Linked DNA regions of Homo sapiens: all the other regions are linked to region 2. Evidence: promoter capture Hi-C in 16 types of primary human blood cells and fetal thymus (Javierre and others, 2016). All regions are on one chromosome and are shown on one strand. The core of a region is centred on a gene start or on the middle of the fragment in contact, and the rest is flanking DNA. Distances in the headings are between cores, read along the strand shown. Region 1 overlaps PTPN23 (protein tyrosine phosphatase non-receptor type 23). Region 2 holds the start of DHX30 (DExH-box helicase 30). Region 3 overlaps CDC25A (cell division cycle 25A). Region 4 overlaps CDC25A (cell division cycle 25A). Region 5 holds the start of SCAP (SREBF chaperone). Region 6 has its middle 29 kb from the start of ELP6.

What was found. Contacts are between HindIII fragments. The CHiCAGO score rates a contact against its expected background, and 5 or more counts as called.
Region 1: a contact is called between a fragment that was not itself captured here and the fragment with the promoter of DHX30 in region 2, in 3 of 17 cell types (megakaryocytes, endothelial precursors and M2 macrophages). The highest score is 5.8, in megakaryocytes.
Region 3: a fragment that was not itself captured here is called in contact with the fragment with the promoter of DHX30 in region 2 in 1 of 17 cell types (endothelial precursors); the score reaches 6.1 in endothelial precursors.
Region 4: a contact is called between a fragment that was not itself captured here and the fragment with the promoter of DHX30 in region 2, in 1 of 17 cell types (endothelial precursors). The highest score is 5.0, in endothelial precursors.
Region 5: a contact is called between the fragment with the promoter of SCAP here and the fragment with the promoter of DHX30 in region 2, in 2 of 17 cell types (endothelial precursors and neutrophils). The highest score is 6.5, in endothelial precursors.
Region 6: a contact is called between a fragment that was not itself captured here and the fragment with the promoter of DHX30 in region 2, in 3 of 17 cell types (endothelial precursors, megakaryocytes and erythroblasts). The highest score is 9.4, in endothelial precursors.

The regions. Positions count from the first base shown.
Region 1 is chr3:47,398,443-47,401,142 of GRCh38, forward strand. All of the region lies in intron 2 of PTPN23 (protein tyrosine phosphatase non-receptor type 23), which reads left to right. Among named protein-coding and RNA genes, the nearest start is that of PTPN23-DT, 18 kb to the left of the region's middle. RefSeq lists a silencer at 90-271. The HindIII fragment of the contact is 800 bases long and covers 959-1,758 here.
Region 2 is chr3:47,801,711-47,804,410 of GRCh38, forward strand. DHX30 (DExH-box helicase 30) reads left to right here and starts at 1,428. Exons shown (of 22, transcript NM_138615.3): 1 at 1,428-1,502. RefSeq lists a silencer at 999-1,848 and an enhancer at 1,573-2,098. The HindIII fragment of the contact is 8,641 bases long and covers 1-2,700 here.
Region 3 is chr3:48,183,462-48,186,161 of GRCh38, forward strand. It overlaps CDC25A (cell division cycle 25A), which reads right to left. Exons shown (of 15, transcript NM_001789.3): 3 at 1,192-1,234; 4 at 339-375. Among named protein-coding and RNA genes, the nearest start is that of CDC25A, 3.6 kb to the right of the region's middle. The HindIII fragment of the contact is 4,715 bases long and covers 1-2,700 here.
Region 4 is chr3:48,161,890-48,164,589 of GRCh38, forward strand. It overlaps CDC25A (cell division cycle 25A), which reads right to left. Exons shown (of 15, transcript NM_001789.3): 13 at 2,418-2,548. Among named protein-coding and RNA genes, the nearest start is that of CDC25A, 25 kb to the right of the region's middle. The HindIII fragment of the contact is 8,518 bases long and covers 1-2,700 here.
Region 5 is chr3:47,474,544-47,477,243 of GRCh38, forward strand. It overlaps SCAP (SREBF chaperone), which reads right to left and starts at 1,398. Exons shown (of 23, transcript NM_012235.4): 1 at 1,256-1,398. It overlaps LOC105377073 (a long non-coding RNA gene), which reads left to right and starts at 1,402. Exons shown (of 3, transcript XR_940821.3): 1 at 1,402-1,821; 2 at 2,099-2,159. RefSeq lists a silencer at 946-1,485. The HindIII fragment of the contact is 8,042 bases long and covers 1-2,700 here.
Region 6 is chr3:47,541,098-47,543,797 of GRCh38, forward strand. No RefSeq gene overlaps it. Among named protein-coding and RNA genes, the nearest start is that of ELP6, 29 kb to the left of the region's middle. RefSeq lists an enhancer at 1,848-2,348. The HindIII fragment of the contact is 3,910 bases long and covers 1-2,700 here.

The DNA of each region.
Region 1 (2,700 bases), core at 109-2,608, 400 kb before region 2:
ATGTCATATCTCTGGATATCAGATTCTCCCCCTTCCCCGGGATTTGCTGGGTTTTTTTGTGTGTTTTTGATTGTTGTAGGCTACCCCTGTGCCAAGAATCAGCCTGAAATGTAAACTTAAAGTTTTTTTTTTTTTTTTCCCGAGACAGGGTTTCGCTCTGTCGTCCAGGCAGGAGTGCAGTGGCACAATCACGGCTCACTGCAGCCTCCATCTCCCCAGTTCAAACCATCCTCCCACTGCAGCCCCCAAGTAGCTGGGACTACAAGTGCACACCACCGCATCCAGCCAATTTTTAAATTTTTTGTAGAGATGGGGTTCCCCTGTGTTGCCCAGGCTGGTCTCAAACTCCTGGGCTCAAGTGATCTTCTGGCCCCAGCCTCCCAAAGTGTTGGGATTAAAGGCATGAGCCGCAGCACCCGGCCTTGTAAACTTAAGGTCTTCACAGGTCTTTTCTGAGCCTGTACCATTCCCTGCACATGTGCAGACTTTCTCATTTGCCCTATATATGTGGTTGCTTTTGAACATCTTACTCTTTAGTGTCTGCCTCCCAAAGGAGGAAAAAGAGAAAAATGAAGAAGGGAAAAGATGCCAGGCCTTTAGATCCCTTGGAAGTTCCTTCAGCTAGAGGTGAAGAAGCTTACAGCCGTGGAGGGAGGTGCAATAGTGGAGGAGCTGCCTCTTTCTCTGTACCTCTGTGATCAGAAGCAGCAATCAGCAAGATCTCCTGTATTTGGAGGACAGAGTCCTTTTTGTCCATGCTGGCTCCCACAAGCTGCTCCTGGAACTGGTGCTGGGGGTGGGGGATGGGTGGCTGCTACTATGGTAGGGGCTGAAATTGACCAAAATTAATGGCAGTGAGCTGTACTGTCAAAGCCTTTGCCTAGAAGTTGCAAGCCTTTAATAGACTCCAGAGTTAAGTCAGATTCTGCCAGTGCAGCTTGTCTTGGTGGGGAGACCAAGCTTCTTCTTATGCTGTCTTCTCAGAACCCTCCTCATAAGTTGAATCTTTAAAAAGGGTTTATTTGAACAAAGTTTGAAAACTAGTGAGATAATCTTAGCCCCTGGGGCAACCGTCATTTTGCACACACAGGCACACACTACACACAAGGACGCAACACACCCTAGAAGGAGCATTACCACCAATCTCCAAAGCATCCTCTGAGACATATCCTCCAAAGCATAAGGCAGGCAACCTGCACAGAGCAATGGGCTGGGTAGAGCAGCCCCTGAGAGAGCTGTGAGCCAGCAGCCTTCAGACCTGTGCTTTTCCAGTGCGAAAAAAGCTCACACATGGCCATCTGGGGTAGCCACTTCCCCTTCCTGGGACTTGGTTTAATTTATCCCAGCAATGTGGGAGTTGGACTAGATCACTGTTTTTTTTGTTTTTGTTTTTAAAGACAGAGTCTCACTCTGTCACCCAGGCTGGGGTGCAGTCTATCTTGGCTCATTGCAACGTCTGCCTCCTGGATTCAAGCGATCCTCCTACCTCAGCCTCCTGAGTACCTGGGACAAGTATGCACCACCATGCCTGGCTAATTTTTGTATTTTTTGTAGACATGGAGTCTCGTATATTCCCCAGGCTGGTCTTAAACTACTGGCCTCAAGCAATCCTCTGCCTCAGCCTCCGAAAATGCTGGGATTACAGGCGTGAGTCACCACGCCTAGTCTAGATCACTGTTCCTTATACTTGTGAAACCCCAGAACAAATTTTCTTACATAGGACGTTGATAATAATCTTTCAGTGAAAAAGTTATTGGAAGCTTTAGGCAGTCCTCTTTCCCTGATCTGAGCCTCAGTTTCCTCATCTGTAAAACCAGGGTTTGAATAGTTGTTTCTAGGAAGACTTTCCTTTTTAAACTCTGAAATAAATTCTTGGCTCTGTGATTACAGGGAATAAAACTGACAGGTGCAGGGGATGCTATGGGGGCATCACAGCATCAAGCTCTCTCTCAGACTCCTCTGTGCGGCTCTGCGCAGCTCGTCTGAGAGTCTGACAGACCAGGCTAGAACCACAGGGGGCTGCATTCTTGGGTGGATTAAAGGGTACAGGTGATCTCTTGGATCTGGAGGGGAGACTGCTTCCATTGTTTCCCAAAGATGGTTTTAGGAAGTACAAGACAAATTTTATTTTATTATTTATTTATTTTTGACACAGAGTTTCACTCCTATTGCCCAGGGTGGAGTGCAATGGCACAACCTCGGCTCACCACAACCTCTGCCTCCAGGGTTCAAGCGATTCTCCTGCCTCAGCCTCCCGAGTAGCTGGGATTACAGGCACTCGCCATCACGCCCAGCTATATTTTGTATTTTTAGTAGAGACAGGGTTTCTCCATGTTGGCCAGACTGGTCTCAAACTCTCAACCTCAGGTGATCCACCCGCCTTGGCCTCCCAAAGTGCTGGGATTATAGGTGTGAGCCACAGCACCCGGCTTTTATTTTATTTTATTTTATTTATTTTGTTTTATTATTTTATTTTTTGAGATGGAGTCTCACTCTGTTGCCCAGGCTGGAGTGCAGTGGCGCAATCTCGGCTTACTGCAAGCTCCGCCTCCCGGGTTCACGCCATTCTTCTGCCTCAGCCTCCCAAGTAGCTGGGACTACAGGTGCCCGTCACCATGCCTGGCTAATTTTTGTATTTTTAGTAGAGACAGGGTTTCACCTTGTTAGCCAGGGTGGTCTTGATCTCCTGACCTCGTGATC
Region 2 (2,700 bases), core at 178-2,677:
ACTGATACACAGAGCACTCAGATGTCCGTGCAGGGATCTCTCTATTCTCCACACAACACAGCACCATGCCCTGTTCAGATGCACTAATTATTTGAATGAATAAATGATGTTCCACCCCCACACCCCGGTCTTCTAGCCAATGTAGAGAGAAAGAAAAGAGATACATGTTGAACTGTTTGCACACAAAAGTGACGGGATATGGCACTAATTCTTCATACAGCCTCAAAGGTCACATCTTTTTTTTTTTTTTTTTTTAAGTTTCATTCTTGTCGCCCAGGCTGGAGTTCAATGACACGATCTCGGCTTACTGCAACATCCGCCTCCCGGGTTCAAGTGATTCTCCTGCCTCAGCCTCCCGAAGTAGCTAGGATTATATGCGCCCGCCACCACGCCCAGCTAATTTTTTTGCATTTTTAGTTGAGACGGGGTTTCACCATGTTGGCCAGGCTGGTTTTGAACTCCTGACCGCAGGTGATCCACCCGCCTTGGCCTCCCAAAGTGCTGGGATTACAGGCGTGAGCCACCACGCCCGGCCTAAAGGCCACATCTTAAAACCATACTCTGTAAAATCCTGACCCAGCTTCAGAGCTACGCCACTGCGTTGTTTCCTTTTGAAGCTGAATTCCACTGAACCTATACTTGAACCTTATCTAGAGGACTACAGCGTGTAATTGGGACAATCCCCTTTCTCATTCCTAAGAGGTGATGTGGCCGGGCGGACCTCCAGATTTCCAGCAACTATGACTGGCACTCTCCCCGCGACCAGCAAGTGCCACCTTGTCCTTTGCCTAACGTTGTACAGTTTACGAAATCAACGAACCAACACGTTGATTTCATCTTCCCTGCAAACTGGGGAGACAAGACAAAAATGCTCACCTCCCTAAAAAAACAGATTAGAGGGGAGATGGGGAAGAGAAGAGGCGTGGCTACGAGCTGTGGCGGGGAAGGCGGGTGGAATCCCGGAGCCCGAGCTGGAAACCGTTCCCCGCTCAGCCATGACCCGGGCTGTTTATTCGCATCAGGAGGCGCGGGTGGCTCGCAGAGGGCGAGAAGACCCTTCCCGCTTTCACACTGCAGGCAGCTAAGTCGCCGAGAAAGGCAGCAACTTGACGCCCGACCCCGCCACCCAAACCCGCTCGCTCTGCGACCCCAGAGCAGCCGGCGCCAACCCGTCCCCTTCGCGACTCCGCCGGAAGTCCCGCCTGCACCGCCGCCGCGCCCCATTGGGCCGGGTGCTGGGGCATCCCGGGCGCTGGGTGCCCCGAGCGGCTACGACGAGTCCCAGGTGGGGCCGGGCTCCAGGCCCGCGGGGGAGCGGAGCCGTGCGCCGCAGGCGGGCTCCGTGACGCCGGGTGGGGAACGCCGGGCCGGTGGCGGGACTTCCGCCACGGGACTCGGAAGGGGCCGCGCCGCCGCTGCTGGGAGTTGTAGTCCGGCCGTGGTTGGGGGAGCCGCGGCTCATGCGCGGTGCACAGAGGCTTGTTTCACATCTGTAACAACAGGTGAATTGGGCTTTTTATTCTCCCCTTTCGTGCCCTCTTGAGGAGCCTGCCGCGGCCGGGGGTGGTCGTCGTGAGGAGGGGGCCCGGTCCGACCGCCAGCCTGGCGGAGAGTGGGGCGGAGACGCCGGCGGGCCCGAGGAGCAGGCCGGGCATCCTAGGCCTGCCCGGGAAGCCGGCCCGGCCGATCCGTGGGCAGCCAGGCCTCGGCCTGCCGTTGCCATGGAGCCCGGGCGGGGGCGGGGGCCAGACCGGTCCGCCGGGGCGGGCCTCGCAGCCAGGGGCTCCGCGGAGGCCGTGGGAGAGGCCGCTTCATTGGCGCAACGACGCCTTCGCCTCGGGATGCGCCGTTTCCCCAGGCAGGGCCTGGAGGAAGCCTCCTGAGTGCCCCGAGACCTTTGTCTACTTCTCCTCCTTCCCGGTGCTGCCCGGACCGTTCGTCCAGAGGGAGGCCCGGTGCCTTCTGGCCCCCCTAGTTTGCCCCCTTTTGCACCGACCTTGTCACTGGGGGAGGCCAAGGGGTGAGGTATTCTTTGTTTGCTGGTGGTAACTTGTCCCATTTAGCAGGGGAAGACCAAATGCATGTTGGGTCCTTTGTTTGCAGTGAACTGGAGTCCCAGGGGTCCTCAGAAACCCTAAGCCAGGGATATGGCATATCTAGTCGTTGTGTAGCAACATTGGTCACTTGAATTATGATTTTTCAAGGCAGAGGCTGTTTCACTTTACAACCCCACTCCATGAGGGTTTGCCATACACTAGCAGGTAGACTGCAGAAGGCCACTTACAGGCTTTCAACCTGGTTTTAGTTGCAGCTTATGGGCCAGAGTGAAATGAGACGTTGTCTGGTGATTTCCCTTGAAGTTTCTTGCAAGGTGGTAACCCCACTGTCATTGTGGGTTTTAACTACATCTTGTAATTTACACTTAAATCTTAGAGATTTAAGGCGATGTGCAGAAACTACATCCTTTGCTGCGTTTTCTACCGGTGTTGGCTCTTTATCCCTAAAAGATAGTTGCTCTTCAAGTGTTTTAATTTATGTAGCTGTGATACAAAGTTTTATTAGGGCCGGGAGCGGTGTCTCACGCCTGTAATCCCAGCACTTTGGGAGGCCGAGGCGGGTGGATCACCTGAGGTCAGAAGTTTGAGACCAGCCTGGCCAACATGGCTAGACCTCGTTTCTACTAAAAATACAAAAATTAGC
Region 3 (2,700 bases), core at 166-2,665, 380 kb after region 2:
AGGCAGGAGTTTGAAACCAGCCTGGGCAACAGAGTGAGACCCCCATGTCTACAAAAAATACAAAAATCAGCCGGGTGTGATGGTGTGCACCTATATATAGTCCCAGCTCCTCTGGAAGTTGAGGTGGGAGGATCACTTGAGCCAGGGAAGCAGAGGTTGCAGTGAGCCAAGATTTTGCCACTGCACTCCAGCCTGGGTGACAGAGCAAGACCTTGTCTCAAAAGAGACTAAAGAAAAGCAGTTTTTACTCTCTAAATTAAGTCTCCTATCAAGGTCATGCTGGTAGCTAAGGAACAGATAACAGGTATTAGCTCAAAATAAACAAGGAACTAACTTACAGGTAGGGAATGTATTCTTCTCATAGGATTTTCAAGGCTGTAATGAGATCAGAAGGTAAATAATGAGAATAAAACAAGTAAAGAGGTATTCATATTAGCAGAGAGATAGTGTTTAGCCTGTAGCTTGGGGGTACAGTCACAGACTCCCATTTTAGGCAAGAGATGGGAGAATAAATTTCTGAAGCTGTCCTGTTCTCAGGAGCACCCCCAACACTAGACTTCTAGGTGAAAAAAAACAAACCCATGTCTTTTCTTAAAATACACACATTCGGCTGGGCGCGGTGGCTCACACATGTAATCCCAGCACTATGGGCACTATGGGAGGCCGAGGAGGGTATATCACGAGGTCAGGAGTCTCGAACTCCTGGCCTGGCCAACACGATGAAACCTCGTGTCTACTAAAAATACAAAAATTAACCGGGTGTGGTGGTGCACTCCTGTAGTCCCAGCTACTCGGGAGGCTGAGGCAGGAGAATCAGTTGAACCTGGGAGGTGGAGGTTGCAGTGAGCCACTGCACTCTAGCCTGGGCGGCAGAGTGAGACTCTGCCTCAGAAACAAACAAACAAACAAACAAAAAAACCCCACATGTTCTTGTAAGGCTATGATGTCAGAGCACAGAGTAAGGGTTTGGGTAAGACCCAAACAGAACACCAAAATTATAGCTAAAATAAAGGAGAAAAAGTTCTGAAAATTGCTGACACAAACTATTCATTCTTGAGATTCCAGAGTGTTTCTAGGCACAGGTAAATCCAGGGCTCCAGTCCAGTGTATGAAGAACTTCATTTAAATAAGGTATTTAAGTTTAGACACGTTTTTTCTACATATAAACATTTGAAAGCAGTGAATACATACTTTTCTTTACTGTCCAATGGCCCAGGAGAATCTAGACAGAAACCTATGGGGAAAAAAAAAACCTCTCAAGAAATAATACAAAAAACACCATTTTGTCATTAAAATTAAAACACTAAACAAAGTACCTGGGTCTTTATTTAAGTCAGGCAACAAATATTCATGGCTTGTACTTTTGCCAGAATTGATGTTACGTCTATTAGATTGTCAAAAATGTCATGTTTGTACAAGTCTTAATATTTTCATAGCGTATTTACTGTTTTTTCTCCTATTTGCAAATAACATCAAGGGAAATAGGATTTGAGAAGAGGGTGAATAAAACTGATTCATATCATGATTGTTTGGTTATTCAGATAGAGGTGACCCAGATAACTTTCTGTGAGTTCCAACCATAGAAACAATAGGTACCAGATTTTCTTGGCATAGTTTTTAAACGTTTTACCTTGTCAAATCATATGAGGCTTGAAAAATACAACTACTGACCAGGCACAGTGGCTCACACCTGTGATTCCAATACTTTGGGAGGCTGAGGCAGGCTGATGGCTTGAGGCCACAAGTTCAAAACAAGCCTGGGGCAACATAGTGAGACTTGACTCTACCAAAGTTAAAAAAAAAATTAGTTGGGTGTGGTGGCACGTGTCTGTAGTCCCAGCTACTTGGGGAGGCTGGAGTGGGAGGTTCGCTTGAGCTCGGAAAGTTGAAGCTACAGTGAACCCTGATTGTGCCACTGTACACCAGCCTGAGACCTGGAAAACAGAGCAAGACCCTGTCTCAAAAAAAAAAAAAAAAAAAGGCCAGGTGCAGTAGCTCACCCCTGTAATCTCAGCACTTTGGGAGGTCGAAGTGGGTGGATCACCTGAGATCAGAAGTTTGAGACCCACACCTGTAATTCCAGCTACTAGGGAAGCTGAGGCAGAAGAATTCTCTAAATCTGGGAGGCAGAGTTGCCTGGGTGACAGAGTTGAGACCTTGTCTCAAAATGAAAAAGAAAAATACAACTACTGGTCATGACATGCAAGGCAAGCACTTGCTGCCTTTAACAAAATGACACCAAGGTGTCCATCTCACAAAAGGCAGCAGGGTGAAGGAGACACTGTTCAGCATTACTAATATGCCAGCTCAGATGACGCAGACCCACCCACCCATAGCTCATGTGTCTATACAGCCTTATGGAAAGTGAGGTGTTACAGCCCTTGCTCACCACACTGCTACAAGTGATAATCCTATCCCCAGTTCTATATTAAATTACATTCTACATACAGAAGCCTACATTACATTTTAAGACTTGCTCTTGCAGTTCCTTTAACCTAAAGGATCTTTGCACCAATGGTCTTATCTGTACAAATACAGATAAACTCTGCAGTAATATGAATTCATGAAGAATGAAATGCACTGGCAATTTCCTCCATAGCAGCATCACTGAAATGATTTCATGACACTGTACTTCCAATCATTTGATCCTGTATTTTAACCAGTAAGATTGCCTGAATGCCACTTACAGTGGTATGGTGA
Region 4 (2,700 bases), core at 32-2,531, 360 kb after region 2:
GTCTCTACTAAAAATACAAACATTAGCTTGGCATGGTGGCATGCACCCGTAGTCCCAGCTACTTGGGAGCCTGAGGCAGGAGAATTGCTTGAACCCGGGAGGTGGAGGTTGCAGTGATCCGAGATCGCACCACTGCACTCCAGTCTGGGTGGCAGAGCAAGACTACATCTCAAACAAACAAACAAAAAAACTGCTGAGTGAATAATTCCATTCATGAATGAGCATCCTTTGGAGACAGATGTTTGAAGGACTTATGAGATGACAGTCAAAAGTGTCAAGTTGTACTGTAGTTGCCTGTGTGTAGAGCATGTACATACAAATGTGACAAAATGTTAAAAATTAATAAAATCAGGTGAAGTGTGTGCAAGTATAACCTTTGTGTGTGTGTGTGTGTGTGTGTGTGTGTGTGAGAGAGAGACAGAATCTCACTCTGTCACCTAGGCTGGAGTACAGTGGCATGATCATGGCTCACCACAGCCTCGACCTGCTGGGCTCAAACGATCCTCCCACCTCCTATTTTTTGTAGAGGTGTGGTCCCACTGTGTTACCCAGGTTGGTCTGGTCTGAAACTCCCGAGCAAGTGATCCTCCTGCCTCGGCCTCCCAAAGTGTTGGGATTACAGGTGCCACTGTGCCCAGCCATAACCTCACCTCTTCTTGAGCTTTAAAATGGTTCAGGTCAGGCGCAGTGGCTCACGCCTGTAATCCAAGCACTTTGGGAGGCCGAGACGGGCAGATCGCAAGGTCAGGAGATGGAGACCATCCTGGCTAAAATGGTGAAACCCTGTCTCTACTAAAAATACAAAAAAATTAGCCAGGCGTGATGGTGGGCACCTGTAGTCCCAGCTACTCGGGAGGCTGAGGCAGGAGAATGGCATGAACCCAGGAGGCGGAGCTTGCAGTAAGTCGAGATTGTGCCACTGCACTCCAGCCTGGGTGACAGAGCGAGACTCCGTCTCAAAAAAAAAAAAAGGTTCAAAGGGGTGGGCACAGTGGCTCATGCCTGCAATCCTAGCACTTTGGAGGCCAAGGAGAGAGGATTGCTTGAGGCCAGGAGTTTGAGACCAACCTGGCCAATATATTAAGACCCCATCTCAAAATTTGAAATTTCTGCTGGGCGTGGTGGCTCACACCTGTAATCCCAGCACTTTGGGAGGTCAAGGCGGGTGGATCACCTGAGGTCAGGAGTTCAAGACCAGCCCGGCCAACATGGTGAAACCCCCATCTCTACTACAAATACAAAAATTAGCCGGGTGTGGTGGTGCACGCCTGTTATCCCAGCTACTCAGGAGGCTGAGGCAGGAGAATCGCTTGAACCCAGGAGGTGGAGGTTGCAGTGAGCCGAGATCATGCCACTGCATTCCAGTCTGGGTGAAAACAGTGTGCCTCCGCCTCAAAAAAAAAAAAAAAAAAGAAAGAAAGAAAGAAAGAAAAAGCCAGGTGCAGTGGCTCACGCCTGTAATCCCACTACTTTGGGAGGCTGAGGCAGGCGGATCACCTAAGGTCGGGAGTTCAAGACCAGCCTGACCAACATGTAGAAACCCTGCCTCTACTAAAAATACAAAATTAGCCGGGCGTGATGGCGCATGCCTGTAATCCCAGCTACTTGGGAGGCTGAGGCAGGAGAACTGCTTGAACCTGGGAGGCAGAGGTTGCAGTGAGAAGAGATTGTGCCACTGCACTCCAGCCTGGGCAACAAGAGCAAAACTCCGTCAAAAAAAAAAAATTGAAATTTTTTAATTTAAAAATGTTTTTTAAAATAAATTGGTTCAAAATAAAAAGGTGGCATAAGAACGTGGTCCTGCAGAAGTCTCCCTTGGACCATCCTAGTTAAGCTGCACTCTCTGTCCTACCTCTCTGCCTGTCCTCCTAGCATTTATACGGATCCCCACTTGGATCTCTGCTGCAGTAGGGTCCTTGTTGGTCCTGCTCGCTGTGGTATTTTTACTGTACTGTGTTTTACTGTAGTTACATTTTTATTGTCAGTGCCTGACAAACAGCAGGCTTGCAATCCTTTTAGAATGGACACAGATGACTGATGGGCAGCTCTTTGGCCCCCTTTTTTCTTTTCACCCTGAAATTGGTAATAATATCAAGTGTTTCAAAGCATCATATCATATGAGGTTTTACAGAATGAGAACTTCACACTTTTCTGGCATTTGCATAAGGAACGGTCACTTTGTACTTGAAGGAGGTCACATGAGAACAGTAGCCCCACAGATCAGACTAAGGACAGTCGGGGAGACTGGAAGAGCCAAAGTTCACCTCAGGATAAAATTACATATGAAAATGGCTTGTTATGTGCCAGAGGTTGCTTGATATGCTAAAATATGCTCCAAGTGCAAGCCACAAACCACCATGTCCCACAAAAGCATCATGGAGCCTGTGCCCCAGAACCCAGTTCCGTGCAGCACTCACATGCGGGGACCTCTCTCAGAAGAAAACTCGCAGTGAAACACAACAATGACACGCTTGCCATCAGTAGGTACAATGGGCTTCTTCAATAAGAAGTCTTCAACCTCTTCTTCCATGTGCAAGTTCACTGCACCCTGTGAAGACAACAGAGACCCTTGGAACCTGCACGTTTCACACATGAAGTAATGATTCAGCAAGATGTAATGATTCATCAAGAGTGATCTTTAAGTCCACAAGACCAGTTTGTGATTTTTGCAGTTCTTCTAGCTGAATAGCCCAGTAGACC
Region 5 (2,700 bases), core at 148-2,647, 330 kb before region 2:
CAACACTTTGGGAGGCCAAGGCTTGTATAATGCTTGAGCCCAGGAGTTAAAGACCAGCCTGGGCAACACAGCAAGACCCCCATCTCTACAAAAAAATACAAAAATTAGCCGGGCGTGGTGGCACACACCTGCTGTCCCAGCTACTGGGGAGGCTGAGGTGGGAGGATCACCTGAGCCCAGGAAATCAAGGCTGCAGTGAGCCGAGATCGCGCCACTGCACTCCAGCCTGGGAGACAGAGTGAGACCCTGTCTCCAAACAAACAAACAAAAAACAAGTCTTTAGGCATCACTGAGGAACACCTAAAATGGATACAGCACTAACTAGACACCCTCGACCCTGACTCCCTAATAAAAGCGTCAGTCTTTTGCTCAATATCCTGACCTGACAGCAAACCAATAAAGACACGGCATAACCAAACTCCACAAATTTTTGGCCAAATAAAAGAAACACACGCAACGCTAACATTAAACCTTTTCTATGGCCGCTTCACGATAAGTATTACAAAATCCCCAGAAAGAGTTTATTCACCTAGCTCCGACTGTCGCCATACAAGGTGGAGCAGTGAGTGACCCGAACCAGGGGCTGACCCCTGCCAGAGCCCCCACAGCGACTCACTGCCCCCCCCTCCGCATTCCCATCTGCACAACTTTCTGTGATTCAAACAGTCCGGAGCCAGGGCTCCCTGCAACTAACGCTATCGTGACATTATAAGCCGGTTAAATACTGAGGTCATAAACCCACTCAGAAGTAAACAGAAGCAACATTAGTGAGCAAAGTTGAGGTTTAAGCAATACGGAAAACTAGAAACCAAGCAAAACCAGCAAAGCAACTAGCGTTGTCTCTCAATAAGATCTTCCAAAAGAGGCAAAGTGGAGAACCTGCTCTCCCCCGCACTCCGGAAAACCCAAACAGCACCAAAGCAGGTTCTACAACAGCTTCCCGGAGCAACTAGGCCAGGGGATGCGACGCCGCGCATCTCCCCCCGTCACACCAGGGGCCCGCGGAGGTCTGGTGGGGACGCGGAGCTCCAGGGGCCGGCCGGTGCAGGGACACGGCCGGGTTGGGGGTGGGGACGCGCGGCCCTGCCTCCTTGCCGGCCTGCGGTCTCCAGGGCCGGCCCGCACGGCTGCTGGACAGCGCCATGCCCACGCACCCCCGAACCTAGCGGCCCCCATTCCGGAACTCCCAGCTCCACGCGGCTGGGGTCGAGCTGGGGCCCGCGGGCAGGCGCCCTGAGCACCCGCGTGACGGTACCTGTGGTGGCAGCACCTCCCAAGCTGCGGCGGCGGCGGCGGCGGCGACGGGGGCGGCAGCAGGGGCGGAGCGCGGCGTGCGCGCTCTCGGCCCGCAGTCCGGTGCGTGGCGCCCTCCCTCTCTCTCCTGGCCGCCGGGTGCCCGCCCCTTCACCTCTCACCTCCTACCTTTACCCTCCCGCCCCGCCGCCCTCCGCACGTGCGCCCAGCGGCGTGCGCATGCGTAGTCGAACCACATTCGCGTCTCCCGTTCGCCCTCTGGTGGACACCGGAGGGAAGTATGGACGGCCGGGCCGGGCCGGGCCGGGCGGAGCGTGAAGCCGGGTTAGGGCCCGCCGGGTTTGGGCCCACCGGCTCTCATCGGTCATCAAGAACTTGCAGAAAGCCGGGCACGGTGGCTCGCGGTTGTAATCCCAACACTGTGGGAGTCCAAGGCGCGAAGATCGCTTGAGCCGAGGAGTTAGAGACCAACTTGGGCAACGTAGGAGACCTCCGTCTCCACAAGTAAAATTAATTAGCCGGCTGTGGTGGCGCGCACCTGTGGTCCCAGCTACTCAGGAGGCTGAGGTAGGAGGATCACCTGAGCCCGGGAGGTCGAGGCCACAGTGAGACAAAAAACAAAAAACCCACCCTGCACAAGATGCTCATGTTCCCTGTTTTATAATGGCAAAAAATTAGAAGCAGCTGGGCCGAGATACACTGCAAATGCAGATGAGAAGAATAAATAATGTCCATAAAACTAGTTTCCCTATAGACATTTAAAAGCATAAGTTGACATTTAACCATTTTCCACAGGGAACAGGTATTTGTTATAATAGCAACAGCTACGTTCACTGTTTACTAGGTGTCAGTTGCGGAGCTGGTATTGTACATGTCCTCGCATTTGGCCCTCCTGAAAATCCGAGGTAGGTCTTGTTACAGGGCCTCACAGAAGGGGAAGGGGAGGCTGCCTCCCCTCGAGGGAAACACAGGTCCCCACCTGCCCAGCTCTGGCCCAACTAGAGACGCTGCCCGGACCACTCTGGGGGGACTTTGATCATGCTACTGCATGCCCTTGCTGTACCCAGGTCTTGTGTCAGAGGTAAGCCTCCCCTCAGCCCCTGCCTACTGCCCGAGACACCCGCACCCACCCCAGGGCTACCTGGATAAGGCAGGCCCTGTACCTGCCCTCAAAGGCACCAGCAAACTTCTCTGGGAGTTCCAGAAAGTGCAGATCTAGTCACCAATGCAAGGCAGAAATTAGAGGTGGCCCTTCTGACCGCACCAGCCCCCGACCCACTACACATTCTTCAGATACCTCCTCCTAAAACCCAGTTCCCACCGGACTCTGGCCTCCCTCCTTGCCCACCACACTATTGTCACAATGAAAGTAACAATGGGGACAGTGGGCCTTGGCCCAAAGTGACTTTCAGGGTTATGACATTTTCAGCATTGTCTTTTGGCTTA
Region 6 (2,700 bases), core at 89-2,588, 260 kb before region 2:
ACCAGCTCAGGGTGACTAAACTGAGAGATGCATGATGTTAGCAAGTCACTGAGGTCCTCAGACCCGGGCAAGAAGGGCCGTGATCCTCCCCGTGGGGCAATGCTCCTCAGAGGCAAAGGACATGCCCACTCAGAGGCCACACACCATGCTTGGCACTGGGGATCCCAGAATCTCTTGCCCAAAAGGCTCCAAGCCCCTGCTCCCCTAGCGATGGGGTCTGAGAGGAGGCTAAGGGATTGTGAACAAAGCGGGAACATGTGGCCTCAGGGGGCCGCACGCGGATCCCTGAAATCCCCTGCATTACAGGTACAGCCCGGGATACAAGGAGAGGGACCAGGTTGGGGGCAGCAGGGCTCCTCTCCCGGCCCCAGCACATTCTCAAACAGAACTCTGAGGAGTCCAAGAAATCTAAATTCAAACTTAGCATTCCAAGTCATCATGAAGGTCAGAGTGGAGATTTGCTTATTGAATAGTTAGTTTGTACGATTACTCATAAACTTTCAGACATGGCCCTCTGTGTGTCCCCCAGTCCTGCCCTGTGAATGTTCATGTGTGCCTGGGCAAGGAGGCATGTGTGCTCCTCTGAGTTCAGGCAGCACCTAGAGAAGCGCAGCCCCTTCCGAACCCCCACAAATGTCCTAAGAAAAGCACCTGTGACATTGAGGGGCCAGGAGAGCTGTCACGTGAGGGTCAGCTGAGGGGACTAAAGACATTCAGCCAAGAGGAGAGAAGGTTCAGGAGTGGCACTCTAGTTGTATTTTGTTCTTGGAAAGATGATGAAAGAAAAAGGAGGACTTACTCATTTATTCCAAGCGCTCAGAGAGTAGACTAGGTCCACAGTGTGACTCAGGGAGGCAGGAGGGCTCACTGAAAAAATGACCCATCTAACAAAAGGTGGGGAAGGTGGGGAAGTGGTAGAAGAACAAAACAGGGAGTGAAGCACGGTGGGAAGTCATGAGGGCTTTCTGCTGGAGGAAGTCCAACTGTGCGAGGTGCATGATCTTTGAAATTTTGCAGGGGTGATTTCAGCCACAGATGGAGGTCTGGGGCCAGCTGATGATCAAGCTCATCCTGCCCCGAGAGTCTCTCTGAGTCTGCCTGGGGAAAGCATGTTGCAAGTCCCTCACAGACAAGCCTCCCCTGGTCCCTGACATTATGCATCTGAAACTCTTTCCATTTTCCAGGAAGGGTAAATCAAGGCACAGGGCAGGGAAGTCACATGGGTACCTGGTTACCAGCTTGTCCCGCTCCGTGTCAGAGGGGCCTGCAGTGTGCTCCTGCTGGTCATGCTCTCCTCCACTTTTTTGCAGGTTGGCAGGGTCTCTGGGGTGGGTGACAGTTCTCACATGGATAGTTCTCTATGAATGCCAGAAGCTAGAGTCCGGTGTCTGGCATTTGGCAGGGCCTGGGAAGCCAGGGGAGCCAAAGGGAGGTCTTTTTTCCTGTGGGAACTCATTCCAGTTGCCAGCAGAGTGAGGAGCAAAGCCATGGCACTTGGCTTTCTGGTGGTTACTCCTGGCAACCTTGTCGTGGCCTTGGACATGGACCCGGTCTGCCCCAGGGTTTCTGTTTCTCCATCTGTAGAACAAGGGTGAACTTCTGCCCTGGCTGGCCATAGAGCCGGCCGGACCAGGAAGCGTGCTGTCCTCCTTGAGAGGGCCAAGCAGTCACCAGAGTAAAGACAAGTGAGAATCAGGGCCTGCCGCCTCCCAGGAGAGGCCCAATTAGAGCAGCGAGTGGTTCCCACCAGAGGCTCTGGCCGGCCCTCAAAGCTAGCCGCGTGGGCAGGCAGCAGCAGGCTGTGTGATTAACGATGGCAGCTCGGGCCGCCCACTGGGCCTGGCCTCAGGAACTTCCAATGAGCACACATAGTGCCAAGGGGAAAGAGGGCCAGCTCCCTTTCTTCTGCAGCGAAGGGAGGAGGGAGCCGGCCGAGGGAGCACCCGGCAACCAGAGGGCAAACCCAAACAAAGGGCCACGCTTTTGAGGGCTCCTGAGACCTCGGCACAGGCCTCCCCGGGGGCCTCAGAGAGGGGTGGCATCAGGGATCCAGAGTTCAGCTCACTCCACAGGCCCCATCAATACATCCCAAGAAGGCTCAGCCCTCTTCCAAGCCCAGGGCCACGATGCAAACAAGAAACTGCTCCATCCTCAAGGAAACAGAGTCTACCATGCATTCATTCATCCATCCATCCATTCACTCAACAAAGACTACCACCTACTGAGTGCCCTGAGACCAGGTAGTGAACAAGACAATCAGGATCCCTGCTCTCAGAAATCTCTATTCTGACTCCTCAGGCAGAAAGCAAGTAAACCAATGCGGAAAAACTACACAGAGGCAAAGAATGGTTATGGGCACTGACTCCACAGGCTGAAGGCTCTGGGTTCAAAGCCCAGCCCTGGCTCCACCATCTGACCACCGGAAAGCTATTTAACCTCTGTGCCTGGGCCTCCTCCTCTGTAAGGTGGGATAATAAAAGTATCTATCACACAGGATAGCTCTAAGAATTAAAGGAGTTAATATATGTAAAGCACTTCAAACACTACCTGGCATATAGTAAACATCACAGAAATATTGTTTTTCATTTGTTTGTTTGTTTGTTTTGAGACGGAGTCTCGCTCTGTAACCCAGGCTGGAGTGCAGTGGCACGATCTCAGCTCACTGCAACCTCCACCTCCCAGGTTCAAGTGATTCTCCTG